Regions from separate parts of the Homo sapiens genome. Here all the other regions are linked to region 2. Evidence: promoter capture Hi-C in 16 types of primary human blood cells and fetal thymus (Javierre and others, 2016). All regions are on one chromosome and are shown on one strand. The core of a region is centred on a gene start or on the middle of the fragment in contact, and the rest is flanking DNA. Distances in the headings are between cores, read along the strand shown. Region 1 has its middle 25 kb from the start of LINC03004. Region 2 holds the start of PERP (p53 apoptosis effector related to PMP22). Region 3 has its middle 60 kb from the start of NHSL1. Region 4 has its middle 32 kb from the start of NHSL1.

What was found. Contacts are between HindIII fragments. The CHiCAGO score rates a contact against its expected background, and 5 or more counts as called.
Region 1: a contact is called between a fragment that was not itself captured here and the fragment with the promoter of PERP in region 2, in 1 of 17 cell types (neutrophils). The highest score is 5.8, in neutrophils.
Region 3: a contact is called between a fragment that was not itself captured here and the fragment with the promoter of PERP in region 2, in 2 of 17 cell types (erythroblasts and neutrophils). The highest score is 6.5, in erythroblasts.
Region 4: a fragment that was not itself captured here is called in contact with the fragment with the promoter of PERP in region 2 in 4 of 17 cell types (naive B cells, neutrophils, naive CD4 T cells and 1 more); the score reaches 7.7 in naive B cells.

What each region holds. Positions count from the first base shown.
Region 1 is chr6:137,689,113-137,692,361 of GRCh38, forward strand. No RefSeq gene overlaps it. Among named protein-coding and RNA genes, the nearest start is that of LINC03004, 25 kb to the left of the region's middle. The HindIII fragment of the contact is 9,855 bases long and covers 1-3,249 here.
Region 2 is chr6:138,105,376-138,108,821 of GRCh38, forward strand. It overlaps PERP (p53 apoptosis effector related to PMP22), which reads right to left and starts at 2,044. Exons shown (of 3, transcript NM_022121.5): 1 at 1,752-2,044. The coding sequence starts at 1,965. RefSeq lists a silencer at 2,173-2,222. The HindIII fragment of the contact is 14,503 bases long and covers 1-3,446 here.
Region 3 is chr6:138,557,677-138,560,753 of GRCh38, forward strand. It overlaps a transcript of NHSL1 not described here. Among named protein-coding and RNA genes, the nearest start is that of NHSL1, 60 kb to the left of the region's middle. The HindIII fragment of the contact is 2,874 bases long and covers 323-3,077 here.
Region 4 is chr6:138,529,284-138,532,852 of GRCh38, forward strand. It overlaps a transcript of NHSL1 not described here. Among named protein-coding and RNA genes, the nearest start is that of NHSL1, 32 kb to the left of the region's middle. The HindIII fragment of the contact is 8,403 bases long and covers 1-3,569 here.

The sequences.
Region 1 (3,249 bases), core at 630-3,129, 420 kb before region 2:
TTTGATGATGGATTCAGAAATAAGTTTTCAAACTCTCAAATCTAAATATGATGGATGTATACATTCTCTGATTCCAAAATAACACTATTTGGTCTGTTTTCACAATTTGAATTCTATTCCTGTTGGAACGCCTGGCTCAAAAGCCAGAGTGCCTTCTCCATCTTGATTCTCTCTTCATTCTCTCCTCTTTGAGTCAATTTGCAGTTTTATTCCAGAATGAACCTCCTGGGTTGTCTGGGAGTATCAACAAAGGCATATTATAACACAATACATTCCTAGTTTTATTTGGCAGCACCAGCCCTGAGACAGGCCTTCATTTGTGATGGTCAGAATGCCTACGAAACAAGGAAATATTTATATGTGCAAAATTTGGAAGGTACAGGGAGGCAAGTTGCATCAGTGGGAGATCAAAGGTCAATGCTGGATGGGATGTTTTGTTCCCAGCCTCCATCGGTTGAACTTAGGTGGGAACAGATCAAAGGCTCATGGGAAATGGGCATGGAACTCCCCACCGTCCGATGCCAAGTGGTGACCAGAACAGATGGGAGCAGAATGATAAGCACAGCATCCCACATCAATGGATACTTATTTGGAAGTAACTGAAGTGGAAAGGTCAGGATAAAATGTCAGCATCTCTGTGTGGGTGAAAATATGTCTGAGAAACTAACTTCGCTCCAAGAAATATGAAGGCAAAGGGGAATGCCTTGGAATCAAAGAGAAGACACTTTCAGTGCCTTTATCCCAGCTGAATGTACTCTTAGACTCCCTAAACCTGATTAAAGTTTTCTCTTACCCTTAGTATGCAATCCTTGCTTTACCCTTGTTGCTATTTGGTCAAAAAGTTGGAGAAGTTGCTGCTAGTGAAATGTTTATGGAAGAAAATGTTTTGGTAATGAAAATAACAGGAAACAATTTTCCCCTCTTGATATTTTTAGGATACTTAGAAAAACTTCAGGAAAGTCATTTTGAGCTGATCACTAGATGTTCATTATTTCCTCCTCATTTAGTTTGATGTTACTTATGAATTCACTAACATTTATTGAGCATTTGCATTGAGTCAGGTTCAAGAGAGGTTTATGGTCAGTCATATACACCTCAGGGGCACTTAACTGGGAAGGTTAGTGATTTATGGAAGCAATGACTCAGGAAAGCAAAGTCTAAGATAAATTGATAGTATTAACACAAATATTAATATCAACACAGGAGTGCCCTAAAGAGCAGAAGGGAGTGGGAGGTTGGATGAAGACTAGAAAGCTGCACAGCTTCACAGCTCTAGGCCTTATTCTCCATTGTATAGGAACCCTTATAGTTTCTGTTTGCTATGCTGTGCCCTTTGAAAGAAAACTGCAAACTTCCCTAATCATGATATGGTGCACCCACGTTTTCCAACATTAGCAATGGAGTAAGAATCCTGTGTCCAGAGGGGCAGATGGATCTTGCGCCTCTGACTTGCTCCACTTTCTTAGGAATTGTATTTTTTTTTTTCTCACTGTTGCCACCATGATGCCTCAGGCAGCACTGCTCCTTTACATCTTTGTCTACATGGAAAACAGGACCTAATGCCTTAATGCCCTCTTAGAACAGTGCTTACAGAAGTAATGAAAGCTAGAAATGGCATAAATATAAATAATGTGATTTACAAGATGCATTTACCATCTAGGACTCCAGGCCTCTTCCCATCTCATCTTGTGGTTTTTTTCCCATGAGCCTGACATTATCTCACCTCCCAGATCCCATGTTTCCTACACTTATACCCAAGGGATCATACCCCAGGAAGAAATACAAGTTCAACTTTTCCGCACAAGGTCATCAAGGGTGTGGTTACTTTTATGTGTCAACTTGACTGGGGATGCCCAGATAGCTAGTAAAACATTATTTTGGGGTGTGTCTGTGAGGGTGTTTTCAGAAGAGATCAGCATTTTAATCAGTAGACTAAATAAAGAAGATCCATCCTCACCAGTGTAGGCATTCATTATCCAATCCATTAGGAGCCCAAGTAAAACAAAAAAAGTGGAGGAAGGGAGAATATGTTCTCTGTTTCCCCTGAGCCATCATCTTCTCCTGCTCTTGGACATTGAAGCTGCTGGTTCTCAGGCCTTCAGACTTGAACTAAATAATACCACTGGCTTTCCTGATTCTCTAGTTTGCAGACAGCAGATTGTGGGACTTCTCAGCTTCCTTAATGTTGTGATCCAATTCTCATAATAAATCCTATTGGTTCTGTTTCTCTACAGAACCCTAAGTCCCTCAATCGATTCCCAGGCTTGAGCCAGTTTAAAGATCCAGAATGCTTGAGTGAAGGCGAGGTAGGGTCCCCTCAAGGAAGAACCCCAGTACACTACCAAAAATGTATAGTATTAATCATCCTCCCAGTCTTCCCCAAAGAGACCTATGGTTTTTTGTTGTTGTTGGTTTTTGTTTTGTTTTTGTTTTTTGAGATGGAGTCTCACTCTGTCGCCAGGCTGGAGTGCAGTGGTGTGATCTCGGCTCATGGCAACCTCTGCCTCCTGAGTTCAAGCTATTCTCCCGCCTCAGCCTCCCAAGTAGCTGGGACTACAGGTGTGTGCCACCACACCTAGCTAATTTTTGTATTTTTAGTAGAGATGAGGAAGACCTATGGATTTTTACCAGTATAAATGTGCACCAGAGAAAGGAAAATAATCAGACATTTTAGGGACTACAGAACACTGGGAGCAAGGTCCTGCCATCATCCACAGATAACTACTCTCCTTTTAAGAGACAGCTTTTGGCCTGCTCCTGGGCCTTGTGCAAATGGAATGCAGAACTACAGCCTCTCTCTATGGTATCCCTAAAAGACAGTGGTGAAGGGAAATCCTCCCAGTGGGCAGAACTTCAGGCAGTACACCTGGTTGTGACTTTGCAGGAGAAGAAGAAATGGCCATATGTGAGATTACATACTAATTCATGGGCCGTAACAGATGGTTTGGTTGGAGGATCAGGGACTTAGAAGAAACATGATTGGAAAATTGGTGACAAATGAAATTTGGAGATGTATATACATAGATTACTTTGAATGTGCAAAAAATATAAAAATATTTGTGTCCCATACAAATGCTCACCAAAGGGTGACCTCAGCTGGGGAGGATTTTAATAATTACATAGCTAGGATGACTGTTCTGTGGATATCAGTCAGCCCTATTGCCAGCCACCTCATGCTTGCCCAATGGGCGCATGAATAAAGTGGCCCCGGTGGCAGGGATGGAGATTATGCATGGGTTCAGCAACATC
Region 2 (3,446 bases), core at 794-3,293:
ATTAAAAATTCAACCAAACTAAGAAAAAAAACCTGCTTATTGCCTTCCATATACAAAGCACTGTATCAGTCTAAGGTGGAACACCACACCCTAAAAAGGTGAGCTCATCCTGCAAGTCAAGAAAAATAAAAATGGCATTGTGCATGTTTCACAAGAGGGCTGTGGTCACAGCCAGAGCCCTGCAGGTCAAATCATGTCCCGTCAGTAGCACTGATCATAGTTCTGCCAATATCCCCGCCACCAGTCAAAGGCACGCTAGTCTTACTTTATATGTGGAGGATTACTGCATATACTTTGGGTCTGCATTAGTCTTTGGAGTAGGGTATAATTATCAAAGTATGTTTAAAAACACACACGCAGATCTGTTAGGTCCCCTAGAAGAGACTGAGTTCAGATGCATTTTAACTAGAAGATAGAGGTACATTATTTCAAAAAACAATTAATTCGCTTTAAAAACCTAAAACACTGGAGATGATACAAACCTGAGCTGGCACAGTGTATGGGTTTTCAGAGAAGAAAACACACAAACTGCAAAGAAAGCTGGAATTTTCTGCAGTGTTTACATTTTATTACCTGGCTAATGGGGACCATGCTTCCTTTTGTGGGGAAGTGACGTCCAAAGGATTACACAAAAGAAAGGGCACCAAGTTGCTGATATAGTCCCCCGGAAACACAAATAAACAGGATTGGGTTGGAAGCCCTGGGCCACTTCAAAGAAAAAAATCAAGTCAATGGTAATAGTAAGAAATGAAAACAGGCAGGGTAGCTTGCTGTCTGTGTTTAAAACTATTAAACCCGGTAGGTAAAGCCCATTTGGCTTTAAGGTTTTATTAGGCTCTCACAGACCCCATCTCCACCCCCACACACATTGCTAATCACAGTAGACCCCAGCTGTGATTCCCATCCACCCCCAGGAAAGGAGAGGGGGCTTCCCACTGTGAAAGAAAATGCCTTCTCAGACAAGAACTATGCTCCAGTCCTGACTTTCAGCAAGGCAAGCAGGGAGCTTCCTCCATGCTGGGAAAATGGCATACAGTACTTCACCTGCTAGGTACATTAAATTTGTCAACTCTGCTTCACGTCGCGAGTGTAGGGAATGTGTTTGCTTTTTAGATTTCAAATCGGATTAAAATAATTAAGTTTTCTAAACAACAATGCCATGCTTAAACCAAAGGACACGCCCTAGAACAAGAGCTAACAAGAACTAGCCTGACCGGTAAAGTAGACTGAAATATCTATTGAAAACGTTAACTGCTAAAACTGCCTGAAAGGGCTTTTTTAAATGAGAAAGTTTTTTCAGCTATATCAAGTTGAACGAATCCACTGATATTAGGGAAGGCACGTTATTTCAATATTTATATTTTAATCATAAGAAGAAACGAGAAGGAAGAGAAATGGGAAGAAATTTCAGGTCTCCAAGAAACTTTGTTCATTATATTTACTCATCTAAACTTGCAATGCTTGAAATAATCTTTCGTACGTAACCGACAAAACCCAGGAAAAAAACTATACAGTTTGAACTACGGCCTTTTTTTTTTTTCTGTTTCTGAGCTTGGTGTTGGCCACCCAAAGCTACTGCTGCTGCATTTGGTTCAGGTCGGATGCATGAGCCCGAGCTCGTCCTAAACAGGCATTCTGAAAAGCACTGGCTCCCCCGACCCTGTGAGGGCCCATCACGCGCGGCGGCTTTTGCAGGCCGCGGCCCCGAGGGCTTCCTGGAGGCGGCGACGGCGGCGGCGGCGGGCACTCACCGTACTCCATGAGGCTCTGACAGCCCTCCTCGTAGGACCCGCTGCCGCCGCCCTCTTGGGAGCATTTCCACCACAGCGAGGACGTCTGGCCGTGGTCGCTAGACTGCAACCAGCCGCGGCCGGCCAGCGCGATGATGTCGAAGGCGATGGCGCTGAGTAGGAGCAGGGGCAGGATCCAGCGGCAGCGCTCGCAGGCCAGGCCGCAGCGGATCATGTTGACGGGCGGCGCGGGGCCGAGCGGAGCGGAGCGGAGCGGGTCGGAGGAGCGCGCGGGACGGGCGACAGCAGAGAGTGGCCTGCGAGCGCGGGCGCCGCCACAAAAGCGAAGAGGCCGCGGGGAGGCGGCTCCCGAGGACGCCGCTCCGGGCGGCCCCACCTAGATTCCGGTGACTCAGAGCGCGCCCGCCCCGACCTGCCCTGCCGGGCCGGGGCGGGCGGGGCCGCTGGTAAACAGGCTGGGTTCTGGTGACACCGGGCGGCGGCGGAAGGCGGCCCGAGGGTCCCGCGCGTCCCACAACCCTCCAGTCCCGCTCTCCTGGCCTCTCCAGGCGCGTGTTTTGTCTTCCTGGCGCACCAACATATACACTTGTTTATCTGCACAGCGCCAGCCTAATATCTGACCCCTGATGTCGCATCGTGGGGCGGTGGTCAGCAGTGCCATATCTGAGTTTTCAGCAGTGTGAGATGGGTGTTCTAATTGCACCTGTGGATAAAGGCTGCACTCCTTTGGACGCGTGCACCCAAACCCAGAAGCCCGTCCCTGACCCCTGCTGACACAGGTGATCCCTTCCTCCTAGGCTCCGCCTTTGCACCTTGGACCGTGGCTCCCCGGGTACTCTTATCTCTTTGCATGCTGTTCTTTCCTGCTGGGTTGCCAGATTTTGGAAAGCGGAGGCGATGCTGAATTTATCTGTGTATCCTTAGTGTCCGGCACCGTGTTTGGATCTCAAGGGGAGCTCAGTGAATTTGATGAATGAACATGTAATTTAACAAATGCTCGCTTCCTTTCGGAAAGGCTTCATCTGGCTTCCCCAGATAATTTCATGTCGCCTCTGCTGCAGTCCACTTCCTATCACGAATCTCTACCTATTTAAACTGCACTCTCTCTACTCTTCATTTACTATTTTGAGGTTTTTCCAAATAAAAATCATACGTCAGCATGCAACCTGCATTTAGGATCCCCCCTTCGGTGTCCTGGGCTAGCTCCCGTCGCAGTTCTGACTCCTAAGATGTGACAGGAAGGGTGGGGTGGCAGCCAGGTGTGCCGCTGAGGACAAAGGAGTTCTCAGTGTCAGGCACCTCGGTGGCCTTGGGAAAATCACTGAAACATCGTATGGGGGTCATGTCTTAACCCTGTACCTCCAAAGATTTCTTCTGAATCCCCTATTTTTTCTGTTAATTTAATATAAAAGTGGGAACTACTTAAAAATATTTTAAATTGTATTCCAATTTGATATTCTCAATAGAAACAGAATACTCTTTTGACTTATGCCATTTTCTGGCAATTCTTGAGGACGAATAAAAGCATGGAGAAAGTATCTGAAAATACATGAAATAATTTCCCTAGCCTTCATTTTACATAATTCAAGTTTTACATAAACCACGTCATATATTTTTATTACAGGAAAATATTTTCACTTTCAAAGAACACAAGAGGGTGTTCTGCCAAAAGTTAATTTTGTATCGTGGAAGCTG
Region 3 (3,077 bases), core at 510-3,009, 450 kb after region 2:
TGATTGAGCAGAGTTGTTGAAGTGTCATGAAGAGTGTGGGACTAAGTCACGAGAAGTGGATTCAAATCCAGTCTATACCAATTATCTCTATGGCTTCAGGCAAGTCTTAATATTGCAGGAACTGCTTGCTCACAACAAAAAGGGGCAATGCCACCTGTCCTGCCACTCCCACAGAACTATCCTTACGATGAAAAAAGACCATGCATGACTACTGCACAAACCATGACCTGTAAACAGGCTCTGGGTGTAGACTATACTTTAGAAAGATGTTCATTAAAAAATATTTTCAATTGTTTTAGAATTCTGAAAGATGAACGAGGCAAGCTTCTGTTATATGGAACTACAAATAAGTAAAAGGCATACTTCTCTAGTATTTTATACAAGTTAATATCTAGTCTATATGATCACAATTTAGAAAAGTATCTCTAACCAATTACCAGGGTTTTTTGGGGGGCTTTTTTTTTGAGATGGAGTCTTGTTCTGTTGCCCAGGCTGGAGTGCAGTGGTGCGGACTCGGCTGACTGCAACCTCCGCCTCCTGGATTCAAGCAATTCTCCTGCCTCAGCCTCCCGAGTAGCTGGGACTACAGGCACCCACCACCACGCCCGGCTAATTTTTTGTATTTTTAGTAGAGATGTGGTTTCACCGTGTTAGCCAGGATGGTTTCGATCTCCTGACCTCGTGATCCACCTGCGTCAGCCTCCCAAAGTGCTGGGATTACAGGGGTAAGCCACTGTGCCCACCCTTTTTTTTTTTTTTTTCCCTGAGACAGAGTCTCACTCTGTCGCCCAGGCTGGAGTGCAGTGGCACAATCTCAGCTCACTGTAGCCTCCGCCTCCTGGGCTCAAGCAATTCTCCTCCCTCAGCCTCCTGAGTAGCTGGGACTACAGGAGCACACCACCATGCCCAGCTAATTTTTGTATGTTTAGTAGAGACAGGGTTTCACCATGTTCAGGACGGTCTTGATCTCCTGACCTCGTGATCCACCTGCCTCGGCTTCCCAAAGTGCTGGGATTACAGGCACGAGCTACAGTGCCTGGCCCCAGTTACCAGTTTTTACAGTAACTGTTTCAAAAAAAACACTACAGCCAGGCAGTGGCTCACGCCTATATTCCCAGCACTTTGGGAGGCTGAAGTGGGAAAATCACTTGAGGCTAAGAGTGAAGACCAGCCTGGGCAACATAGCAAGACCCCTTCTCTACAAAAAAACAAAATAAAATAAATTAGCCAGGCATGGCGGCAGGCCCCTGTAGTCCCAGCTAACTTGGGAGGCTGAGGCAGGAGAATTCCTTAAGCCCTAGAGTTCAGGTTACAATAACCTATGAGTGCACCACTGCACTCCAGCCTGGACGACAGAGGGAGACTCTATCTCTTTAAAAAGAAAAAAAAAAAAAGAAAACCACCAAAACATTGCTTTTGTTTTCCAGTTCCAACATAGGATCTCTGCTACATACAGGCTAGAATCCAAAAATTGGAAGTTAAAGTTTTGGACTAAACTTCACAACTAATTTTCCCCTATGGGGGATGGACAGTAGGCTGGTAAATAAAGACAGAGAAATCTACAGGATCAGGGCAGAAACTGGCCAGACATTGCTATTCATGGGCTTTCCCTAGGGCCAGTGAGCAGGTGCAGGGAATCAGCCTGAGTGCATCAGCAGGCTCTTCCACACTGCCCTGCAGCAGGCAGCAAGGCTCCTGTTGGCAATCACTCGGTCCTGCTGCCAACTTTCAAGGCTTATACACCAACGGGGTCCTGGACTAGGGGCGCAGAGGGGAACTCAGAAAAGGACTTCCTATGGTGGATGAATGCGTAGGTGGCTCAGAGTCACAAGCTGGGTTTTGGACCAGATGGTTTTCTGAGAGGCACCACTACTCTACACTGTTTCTCAAAGTACTCCTGGTATACCAGGCCTTTCTCCAACACCAAGACAACAGTGGACTATCTACAGAAATTCCATCATAGCTTGTAACTTCTACATATTGAGAAAAAAAAGCTATGTGATACACATGCATAATAACACCCTACTGAAAAAAGTGAAGTCTACCGAAAGCACCATTTTTGAGGGTCATAAAATCAAGTAGTAAGTCAGGACTGACATTTTCTGTTTGATAACATAGAATAGAATAAACAGAGAAAACAGAGTACCATATGTAGACACGCAGTAAAGGTAAATCATTCCACAAAGCTATTCCATGTACGCATGCCATGCATATATGCCATGTGTGGCATGGGAACCAATGTAAAGTGTATTTATTACTTTGGACACAAACAAAACTTTTTAAACTCTCTGACTTAAAAAATAAACTATAATTAAACTTTTCAGGCCCTGAAAACCCCAAAACATTCACACCATAGTTCCTGTAGGAGATTATTTCCCCCATTTGAAACAAGCATGGATTCTAGAGAAAACTAGCTCAACTTTCTCAGAAACTAGAGAAGAATTTACTAATTGGATTTTTGTTCAAACCTTTATTATTAGTTGGAGTTGGAACATAACCTTCGAGATTTCTAAAGTCAGTGGCATAACCTTCCCCTGGTTACAGTGACATAAGAACACAGATCAACTGAATAAACCAACACATTCTCCAGAGTGGCGATGTAACCAAGGTCTGCTGATCCAAAGCAATGTCGAAAGACAGAAACCCCAACCTCGCCAGCTTCATAAAGCATCAATAGCACACAAATGAGACACGGTGGCTTAAAAGTGGCTTGCAAATGGAACAGAGCTAAGATCCTTATGACAGAACAACACTCAGGCATGCACACGTAAGGACAAAGAGTTGGACTTGGGAAGCTAGCAAGGAAAAAATATTTGAAACATCTTTTTATAATGGGAATAGAGTGTGTTGAAGAACTCAGCAATGAAATGACTTTACGGTAGAAATCAAAGTTCTTTTTCCAGGAAGTCAGAGCATTCTATGTACTTTCTACTGGTGAAAAACTTATGTAAATAAATAACTACCAGGCAAGATGATCACAGCAACCAAACTAAGCACCAGCCACAACCACCCACAAGGTAAATTCACAAATTGCCTTGTGTCTGCTTTGTAAAAGAATCCCCGACCAATCAAGACTA
Region 4 (3,569 bases), core at 313-2,812, 420 kb after region 2:
AATATTAAGTTCTACTGGAAATCAAATCTAATAGAAAGGTTCCCAAAGCAAGACACTCCTGTCCCTCAACTCCATTTTTTGTTTTGTTTTAATGACGTAGTAGTTTTCTACAGCCTTTCTAAAGGCTCATTCTCAATGTTGCCTCGGATGAGAGCCATGTTATGATGAGTGCTGTTATAACAACTTAACATGAATTTAGCACCTGCAGATAATACCCATTTATTATCTCACAGTTCTGCAGGTTAGCAGTCCAGCAGACTTGGCTGGGGGCCTTGCTTAGGGTCTCACAAGGCCTAAACTTAACTGTCGGCCAGCCTGGGCTTTTATCTGAAGGCTGTGCAGAAGAATCAGCTTCCAAGCTCATTGTTGGCAGAATTCAGTTCCTTCTCAGTCTCCTACTGCTCCCTCTATCTTCAAGCCAGCAACAGCGTACTGACTCCTCACCCACAGAATCTCTCAACTTCCGCTCTGCCATCAACCAGAGAGAGCTCTGCTTTTCAGTGCTCCTGTGATTACATTAGGCCCACTTGGATAATCCAGGCTAATCTCCCTTGGGTAAGGTCATTGATTAGTAACTTTAATGACATCTGAAAAGTCCCTTTTTGCCATGTAGTGTAACATACTGACAGACATGGCAGGAATAAAAGTCACAGGGGTAAAAATTTTTGCCTATCATATTTAGTAGACTGGAGTTGTTTTCCATTATTTGAATTCTTTAATTCCAGAAGACTCAAACAGACCATTTTGCCTTAATAATCAATTATAGATTACAATGGTCTGAATGTTTGTCTCCCCAAAATTCTTATGTTAAAATCTTAATCCCCAATGTGATGGTATTAGGAGGTGGGGCCTTTGGAAGGTGATTAGGTCATCAGAGTGGAGACCCCATGAATGGAATTAGTACACCTATAAAATTAGTGCACCTACAAAAGAGGCCCCAGAGAAATGCAAATTAAAACTGCAATGAGATACCACCTTACTCTTGCAAGAATGACCATGTTGGCAGGGATGTGGTGAAAAGGGAACACTTTCACACTGCTGGCAGAACTGTAAACTAGTACAACCACTATGGAAAACAGTATGGAGATTCCTTAAAGAACTCAAAGTAGAAGTACCATTCGATCCAGTAATACCACTATTGGATATCTACCCAAAGGAAAAGAGGTCATTATATGAAAAAGATACATGCACATGCATGTTTATAGCAGCACAATTTGCAATTGCAAAAATGTGGAACCAGCCTAAATGCCCAATAACTGAAGAGTGGATAAAGAAAATCTGATATATATACACACCATAGAATACTACTCAGCCATAAAGTGGAATGAAATAATGGTCTTTGCAGCAACTTGGATGGAGATGGAGACCATTATTCTAAGTGAAGCAACTCAGGGATGGAAAACCAAATATTGTATGTTCTCACTTATAAGTGGTAGCTACTAAGTGAGTTACCAAATATAGTGATATATAGCTATGAGGATGCAAAGGCATTAAAATGGTATAATGGACTTTGGGGACTTGGGGGAAAGGATGGGAGTGGGTGAGGGATAAAAGACCACATGTTGGGTAGGGTATACACTGCTCAGGTGGCAAGTGCACCAAAATCTCAGAAATCGTCACTAAAGAACTTATCCATGCAACCAAAAACCATCTGTTCAATAGTTTTTGACTATTGAAATAAAATTTAAAATATTTTTTTTTTAAAAAAAAGGCCACAGTTTTCTCCTCTCTTTTTCCATGTGAAAATACTATGAGGAGACAGCAGTCTGCAACCCGGAAGAGGAACCTCACCAGAATTCATGCTGATACCTTGATCTCAGACTTCCAGCCTACAGAACTGTGAGAAATAAAATTTGTGGCTTACAGGTCACCCAGTCTATGGTACTTTGTTATAGCAGTCTGAACTAAGATATAAATCAAAAATTAAACTGTTTGTCTGCATTTTCTTGAATGGGTTCATATTTTTAGTTTTCACCACCATTCCAGGTAATAAACAGCATCACTCCTAGTCTTGAATAACTGCCTTTGGTTGACAATGTCCATTCTAATTTACTCTTACAGAATACTGTGGTATTTCCTCTTAAATACAATCTTCCAGGGCAAGGCATGGTATTCCAGGTAAGAACAGTTAGTTTGTAACTTTTGTAACTTCAAATAAGGGGGCAGGGTAACGCTTTCCATTTTGTTTCTGTTTTTCTTAGATCTACTTCATTTGTCAACCATTTTGTTTCTCTCTCTTTTTTTTTTTTTCCTGAAACAGGGTCTTGCTCTGTTGCCCAGGCTGGAGTGCAGTGGCAACATCTTGGCTCAATGTAGCCTTGACCTCCCACTTCAGCCTCCACAGTAGCTGAGACTACAGGTATGTGCCACCACACCTGGCTAACTTTTTTGTCTTTTTGTTTTTTGTTTTTGTAGGGGCAGGGTTTTGCCATGTTGCTTAGGCGGGTCTTCAATTCCTGACCTCAAGTGATCTGCCTGCCTAGCCTTCTAAAGTGCTGGGATTACAAGTGTGAGCCACAATACCTGGCTAATTCTTTTTCTGATATTAAACCAGATGATACACCAGAATTTTCCTTTATATCTTAAATTTTTTTCAATTATTAACAAAGTAATATAGCCAACATTTATGTGCTTCTTGGTATCAATGGTAATGAACAATACACATTCCCTACCCTCTAGGTTCTTATTGCCTAGCACAAGAAAACAGACAGATGTATGACACTGTGATAGGTAACTCAGAGAAGGGGTTACTAACCAGCATTGGAATATTATAGAGAACTTCCAAGAGGAGGTAACATCTGAACTGAATCCTGTAAGTCTAATCTAAAGATCAGGTTGAAGCAATAGGGGAGAAGCAGATATTCCCTCAAGGCAGAGGGTCCTGGCACGTGCCAAGGAAGGTGAACACAGTGGGAAATATGGATGGGGGAAGAGGCTACTGAGAATTGAAGCTCAAGAAGAAAATAAGGAGGCATTCTGTCATGAAGGGCTCCTCTATGTCATGTTAGGGAATTTACACTTCATCCTGAAGGCAATGGAACAGTGGTGGTAGGGAACTGAAGACTTTTTAACCAGAGAAGAAACAGTTGCAATCTGTTTTTTCATTCTGGATAGAGTTTGGAGAAGGGATGCTAGGTAATTAGCCTAGGATCCGTGAGTCAGGAGCCTAATAAAGGCATGAGATGCTAACAGTCATCTCACTGAGGCAGTGGTGACCCAAGGGCTGGAGAGAAGGGATGGAATTGACAAGAAGTACAAGAGAATGGGAGAGGAGAGAGAAAGAGGGTTCCTAGTTTCTGGCTACATTCTGGGTATCTTATCTCATTTGATCCCCCACAAAATCACCCCATCAAGCAAGCAGGGCAATCACTTCTATTTATTAGATGGCAACAAATGGCTCAGAGTAGTTAGGTGGCTTATTCTGAGTCAATAAATGTGAGACTTGGGATCAGAAACTCTGATTCCTAGGTTAGGGGTCTTTCTGTTTTACATGCAGAAATTTTACTCACGGCTAATAGCATCATGGAAGATTCCAGGCTCATCCCGAATGTGTAATCTAATAAGATCTC